Regions from separate parts of the Homo sapiens genome. Here region 2 is linked to region 1. The links are contacts of gene promoters, found by promoter capture Hi-C in blood cells and fetal thymus (Javierre and others, 2016). All regions are on one chromosome and are shown on one strand. Each heading gives the region's core, a stretch centred on a gene start or on the middle of the fragment in contact. The rest is flanking DNA. Distances are from core to core; before and after follow the strand shown. Region 1 holds the start of ZNF410 (zinc finger protein 410). Region 2 holds the start of ACOT6 (acyl-CoA thioesterase 6).

Region 1 (3,544 bases), core at 428-2,927:
AGGAGGCTGAGGCTGGAGAATCATTTGAACCTGGGAGGGGGAGGTTGCCGTGAGCTGAGCTTGCACCATTGCACTCCAGCCTGGGCGACAAGAGTGAAATTCCATCTCAAAAAACAAAAACAGATTGACAACAAAGACAGTTTCAGAAAATGACAGGACTGGGCAAATTAACAAATGTTTGTAAACATGAATGTTCAGGAACTACTGATGTACCTCAAAAGTTTGTTTTATTAATTGTACTCAACCCTCGCAGAACAGTAAAACTGAAGATTATTGTTTCTGAATGTTTTGGCTTATGATTGTCTACACACTGCCAATATACTTTTGTATGCAACATTTGTAATAAGTAGATTCAAACTGTGTTGGTAATCAGCCTCCCCAGTTTTCGTGAGTGGCCCTTTTTTGTTACTTTTCCTGGACCATTTCATCGCCTGAGGGGGTTTCACTTTTCTCTGTATGTTGCTAACTCCCAAATCTCCATCTGTATTTCTGACCTCTTTCTTGAGCACTGGACCTTTACCTCCAAGTAAATATCCTCAACTCTGGATTGCATCTTATACTCTGCTTTTTTCTTTTCTTTTCTTTTTTGAGATGGAGTCTTGCTCAGTCGCCCGGCGTGCAGCGGCACGATCTCGGCTCACTGCAACCTCCGCCTCCCGGGTTCAAGCGATTCTCCTGCCTCAGCCTCCCGAGTAGCTAGGATTACAGGCGCGTGCCACCACGCCCGGCTAATTTTTGTGTTTTTAGTAGAGACGGGTTTTCACGGCGTTACCCAGGATGGTCTCGATCTCCTGACCTCGTGATCCGCCCACCTTAGCCTCCCAAAGTGCTGGGATTAAAGGCGTGAGCCACGGAGTCCGGCCTACTCTGCTTTTCTAAAGTGGAATTATCTTCCTCTGAAATGTTTCTCCTTTATTTTAAATCACCATTAGTAATTTGTGTACCCAAACCTGTCATCAAGGCTTATCTTTAACCTTGAAAATGCCTTTTTAAAGAGAACTCCTTTAATTCCCACGGTTGAGTCTCTCATTCTTCCGCACGCAAATATTTTAAAATAAGTAATTTCAAGAAGTCAGTCAAACTCACAAAGCTTTAACAAGGTGGCATCCAGCTTGGAAGTCAAGTGTTCAAGCCCGCAGTCGGGACATCCAAGAGCTCTTTACATCCTAATTACAACACGGAACCCAGACTCACTGCATACCCCGTCCCGTATATAATGCAAAACTTGATTCTGCAAGTTCCTTTCTCGGGCGGTGAAACTTCGAAGGTCCTCTCCATGGAGACCTTTGATAAATGTTTAAGCAGTGATCTTTTCTTTCGCGTTTGCCTCCATTGCAACGCCTCCGCTGATGGGAAAAACTACTCCCTCCGCTACTGCGGGGTGGCAGTGACGTCAACGAATTAGCTGACCTGTTTTTTCGGGCTTCGCGGACATAGGAGTCCCGAAGGCCGAGAGTGAGTGAGTGAGTGGGAGCGGGGCGGCTGCGGCTCCTCCTGTCCGGGGCGGAGCCCTGCGTCGCGGGCCTGGGGAGGCCCCGCCAGCACCCTTGACGTCTGGGTCCCGAGCAGTGCGGCAGCCACACGACACTGAGGCGAGCGAGTGGGTGTGTGCGTGGGGGGTCAGCCAAACTTCCTGTCCCGCGCTCGAGCTGCTTCCGGCGGGAGCCGGAAGACGCTGTGTGTGGACGGAATTCGGGACCGACTGACGGCCGGCCGGCTTCCCGGAACTGGAAGGTGAGCTCCGAGGTGGGCCTGGCCACCCCTCCTCGGTTAGGTAGTACCCGAGAGGGCGGGGGCCAGTACCGGCTACTTGGGGCCTGGGGCCGAGTTCGCCCCGAGAGAGGAAACCGCCCTCCTTGGGCATCCCTCCTGGATCTGGCGGGCCCGGGAGCGGCCAGTCTGAAGCCCTGCGGCTTTGGCCCTTCCCCTCGCGGGTTTTTAGGGGCGATGTTCTTGCTCCTTTGCTTGGTTTTGGGGGTAGGGATATAGGAACAGACTGTCCTGAGAAAGCCAGAGTCAGCGAGTCCCCGGGGCGGGGGCTCTTGGACTGCACCCGCAGCCGGGGCCTGCCTACGGACCTTGGGGCCTTATTTCTGAGGCCTTTGTGGTGTGGGGTAGAGGATGCCAGGAGGCCTTGCCCTGAATGTTTCAGTCCAGAGCTACCCTCTCCTTTCATACCACTTACTTTCTGGGTTTGGAAAAGGGACAGCTGCCTACTCGGCTGGGCTGGGTCGCCCGTTTCTCCTTTGCCTGTCAGTTCGGGGGGCAGGAGTGTGTGGATTGTTTACGGCCTTCATACATTTCGTGTCGAATTTATTTTCTGAAGTTTCTCAAGATAATCCAATTTATTAAAGTTTATCCCACTTGATCATGAGGCTCAGAAATGCATTTAGGCACCATTTGGAAGTTAAATATTATTAACTTGGGACTTAAGAATTAGTACTTAGGTTGGAACGAAGGTCAACGCAGCATATTTGCAATAAATAAAAAACATTTGGAAATAAAGTCGGGCATTTTGTTAGGGAGTGAGAAATTGCACTTGGTTTTTTCTTAGTGTGGTGCAGAGTAAAAGACAACTAAAGTAGCAGTCAGAAGTTTTAAGTTCTAGTTTTTTACGTTTTGCATCTAAGTAGATGTCTAATTTTTGGCAAGTTGCTGAATCTCTAGCTCTGGGGAGTTTTTCTGTAAACGAAGGGGTTTACCTTTAGGGCTATGACAATTTTTCCGAGGCACTGAACTTTGAGTAGAAGTGACATAAGCATTTCTTTGTTTTGGAAAGATAACTTGAATGGCTGCATAAAGGATGTATTGGAAAGAGGAATTTTAAACGCGGGGTGACCAGTTAGAGGCCTGTTTTAATAGTATAGTAGAAAGTTACTGAGAGACCTAAACAGGGCATTACAGTAGGGAACAGAGAACATTCTGGGAACAGAGAATCACGGGAATTATTTAAAAATGGAGAATGAGAGAGATTTAAAGACCTAGAATTTGCAGCTGAGTGGGAGGAAGATTGGGCGATCATTGAAATAGGTAATACAAGAAGAACAGGTTTGGTAAGGAAGATAATAATCTGGATTTTGGACATTGTTAGGTTTGAGATGCTGTTGGATATACATGTGGAGATACCTAGCAAGCAGTTAGAAATGAAGGTTTGGAGTTCAGAAGAGATGACTAGAGAAAAATGTAGGTATCATTTGTAGTGTCATTCATTCATTATACAAATATTTAGTACCTACCAGTTGCTTACTGGGAAGCTTGTATGGAAGCCCTTTAAGCTCATAGTAAACACATTAGAAGTGGGAAGTGACCGTTAATGGGCACAGGGTTTCCTTGTGAGGTGATGAAATATTGTAAAATTGATCGTGGTTCTGCTTGTACAACTCTGAATGAACTAAAGATATTTTAATTGTACTCTTTAAATGAGTCAATAGTATGGTATGTGAACGATATCTTAGTGAAACTAATTTTTAAAAAAGATTTACATTGCAGTTTTGGAAATCTGTTGAGTAAGGAATTGGGAATAGGAATGTTTAATTGTGTATTT
Region 2 (3,544 bases), core at 400-2,899, 270 kb before region 1:
TCTTTCAATGCTTTAACCCAGCAGTCACATGACCCCAGAGTACAAAACTCAGGGCAGCTGCAGTGCAAGTGGGGCACACACACATGAGATTCCATCACCCAGGCAGCATTCCTGAGCCTTGGGGGACTGGTTTCCAATGATTCTTAGGCTTCTGTCATTCTTTGCTGCCTATCTGTAAGTAATAAATCCAGTTCATGTAAATTGTTGTATTAAATATATGAATGTGTTTTCTCACTGGACTCAGACAAGTTGGTAACCAGCATACAGTGAACTTGCTTCATAGAGTCTAATACCTTTTTGTTCAGTTTATACATGTTTACTGAGCTGGGCATCACTATATGCTCTTCTTCCTTCTCCACCCTGCTATGTTCCCAGCTAGGTTGAGCTGTGTGGTTGGGTTTGGCCAAAGAGAGGCATTAGCAAGATACTGAAAAACAAGAGGAGAGTCAAGGGACTTATAGTCTCCTCCTTCCTGCCACAAACCATAGGTTCCTTCTAAAAAAGGTACAACTCCTATCAGACTGCCCCCTTCCCTTGAACCTTCAGATTCAGGGTTCTACACCGAATCTTGTTTCATTGTTTTTGTTTTTAAATCTTGCCCATGCCTTTGTAGATAGTACCTTTATAAAACTCTCCTCAATTACACAGGCTGAGAGTGCCACTTGCTTACTGCCAGAACTCTGTATGCATACAACCCAAAATGGACTCTGCCAGTGATTAGATTTGTGAGGTAAGAAACAAAACAAAACTTTCACTGGGTACTAACCTACAGGTGTGTCAGTGTAGTGTTTTTACACATTAGCCCATTTAATGGTCACAATAAGCCTTTTCAGATAAGAAAACTGAATTTAGAGGGTTATGTTTCTTGCTAAAGATCACCAGGTATTAATATTAAGGATCAGGGTCAGACCAGAACTCGGCTAGGTCTGCCTCCCTAAACATCTGCTTTGCTCCAGGTACCATTAGCCCTGGAAAAAAGGCTTGGTAAGGGACTGAGGGGTAAAGGACGGATTACGACCATGTTTCTCCAAGGGGTCACCTGAGTACAATCACCTGGGATGCTTTTTCAAAATCTAGATTCTTGGACTGTATCTCTCTCAATCCTTTAGCTCTCAGTGGTTTTTGTGCCTCTATTTCGACACTCACCACATTGGATTGCAGGAATAGTCATTAACTCTTTTTTTTTTTTTTTAGACGGAGTTTTGCCCTTGTTGCCTAGGCTGGAGTACAATGGTGCAATCTTGGCTCAATGCAACCTCTGCCTCCTGGGTTCAAGCAATTCTTCTGCCTCAGCCTCCCAAGTAGCCGGGATTACAGGCATGCGCCACCACACCTGGCTATTTTGTATTTTCAGTAGAGATGAGGTTTCACTCTGTTGGTCAGGCTGGTCTTGAACTCCTAACCTCAGGTGTGATCCACCCACCTCGGCCTCCCAAAGTTCTAGGATCACAGGCGTGATCCACCGCCCCCGGCCGGATTGGTCATTAACTCTTATTTCAGCAGATACTCTTTCATTTGGGACACTGGTGTATTTGCACAAATTCTAGGCGCCCCACGCAGCGGCCTGGAGCCTGTCCCCAAGTCCAACCAATGGGAGTAGTGTTAAGGGCTCCGCCCTCGACTACTTTCCAGCGCTCGGCAAAGCCGCCAGGCCCGCCCACTGACTCCGCGGAGCTGGGTCGCCCCTGTTCTACCCAGATTGGGATGGCAGCGACGCTGATCCTGGAGCCCGCGGGCCGCTGCTGCTGGGACGAGCCGCTGCGCATCGCAGTGCGCGGCCTGGCCCCGGAGCAGCCAGTCACGCTGCGCACGTCCCTGCGCGACGAAGAGGGCGCGCTCTTCCGGGCCCACGCGCGCTACCGTGCCGACGCCCGCGACGAGCTGGACCTGGAGCGCGCGCCCGCGCTGGGAGGCAGCTTCGCGGGGCTCCAGCCCATGGGGCTGCTGTGGGCGTTGGAGCCCGAGAAAGCCTTGGTGCGGCTGGTGAAGCGCGACGTGCGGACGCCCTTCGCCGTGGAGCTGGAAGTGCTGGACGGCCACGACACCGAGCCCGGGCGGCTGCTGTGCCTGGCGCAGAACAAGCGCGACTTTCTCCGGCCGGGGGTGCGGCGCGAGCCGGTGCGCGCGGGCCCGGTGCGCGCCGCGCTCTTCCTGCCGCCGGATGAGTAGTCTGCCCAGAATTTGGTCGAGCTCTGCGACCCCCACCGGCCCCTTTCCTGTCCTGGGAATCGCGTGATTGTGGAACATCCCTGAACTTGTTCCTTCGCTCCAGAGTCTGTCATGGATTCTGAGTCTGGGCGTCCGCTGTTGCCCAGGCTGGAGTGCCGTGGCTGGATCGTAGCTCACACTGCAGCCTCGAACTCCTGGGCTCAAGTCCTCTCGCCTCAGCCTCCTGAGTAGCTACTCCAGTCTTTCCTTTTTAAGTTTCACGTCCCTCCCTGGAGGCACCACCACTTTAGCTATGTGCTGAATAGTGCATTCAACTTATTATATATTTATTGAGAGCCACTATGTGCCAGCCATGTGGTTTTGTTTGAATACGATATGGGCAAAACCTTAAGCTGATGTGCAAGAAGGATTTTTGCCTCCTTTCACATCAAACTTCCAAAGAAGCTAAAATCCACAGTATTGGCAATGCCCTTTAATTGTTTAAAAACACACACAAAACTGCCTGACAGTCCTCTCCCTTCTATCATAAACATGCTGTACGTGGTTCTCAACCTGCAATGATTAGCCGCCCTCCCTGGGGGAAATTTGGCAATATCTGGAGACATTTGTGGTTGTCATATCTGAAGGGAGAGGTGCTATTGGCATCTAGCAGGCAGAGGCCAGAGATGCTGCTAAACATTCCACAATGCACAGGACAACCACCAGAACAAAGAATTATCTTGCTGAAAATGTCTGTACTACTGAGGTTGAGGAACCCTAGTCTAAGTAAACACAGGATGTTTGCTAGGTAAAGGTAGCCCAGAAAGAAGACTCCTGATTAATCCCTTCTAACTAAATTCCTGACTTAAACCTCTACCATATAAAAATGATGAGCCGGGCACAGTGGCTCAGGCCTGTAATCCCAGCACTTTGGGAGGCTGAGGTGGGCAGATCACTTGAGCCCAGGAGTTCAAGACCAGCCTGGGCAACATGGTGAAACTCTGTCTCTACAAAAAAAAAAAAAAAAAAAAAAAAATTAGGCAGGCATGGTGGTGCATGCCTGTAGTCCCAGCTGCTTGGGAGGCTGAGGTGGGAGGATTGTTTGATATCAGGAAGTAGAGGTTGCAGTGAGCTGAGATCACGCCACTGCATTCCAGCCTGGACAACAGAGTGAAACCCTGCCTCAAACAACAACAACAACAACAAATTCTAGAGTTGCAACAGCACATAGAATCCTTAAACCGAATTCTGTGATTATTCTCCAAAACAAGAAAACTTGCTTTATTTTTACAGCTCTTCAGCAATTCTTAGCCTTAACTCGTGGCTGCCCACTGTACTGTGAATTCCTGGGGCTGGAATTGGGTCTTACAGATTTCTAAATATCCATGTTCCTAGA

The links. Contacts are between HindIII fragments. The CHiCAGO score rates a contact against its expected background, and 5 or more counts as called.
Region 2: the fragment with the promoter of ACOT6 here is called in contact with the fragment with the promoter of ZNF410 in region 1 in 4 of 17 cell types (M1 macrophages, M0 macrophages, naive CD8 T cells and 1 more); the score reaches 10.2 in M1 macrophages.

The regions. Positions count from the first base shown.
Region 1 is chr14:73,885,182-73,888,725 of GRCh38, forward strand. ZNF410 (zinc finger protein 410) reads left to right here and starts at 1,678. Exons shown (of 12, transcript NM_021188.3): 1 at 1,678-1,734. PTGR2 (prostaglandin reductase 2) reads left to right here. Exons shown (of 10, transcript NM_001146154.2): 10 at 1-545. RefSeq lists enhancers at 1-36, 1,668-1,737 and a silencer at 1,338-1,617. The HindIII fragment of the contact is 2,164 bases long and covers 1,089-3,252 here.
Region 2 is chr14:73,610,868-73,614,411 of GRCh38, forward strand. ACOT6 (acyl-CoA thioesterase 6) reads left to right here and starts at 1,650. Exons shown (of 3, transcript NM_001365788.1): 1 at 1,650-2,165. The coding sequence starts at 1,705. It also overlaps a transcript of HEATR4 not described here. RefSeq lists enhancers at 1,761-1,810, 1,828-2,327, 1,861-1,910 and a silencer at 2,986-3,230. The HindIII fragment of the contact is 17,987 bases long and covers 1-3,544 here.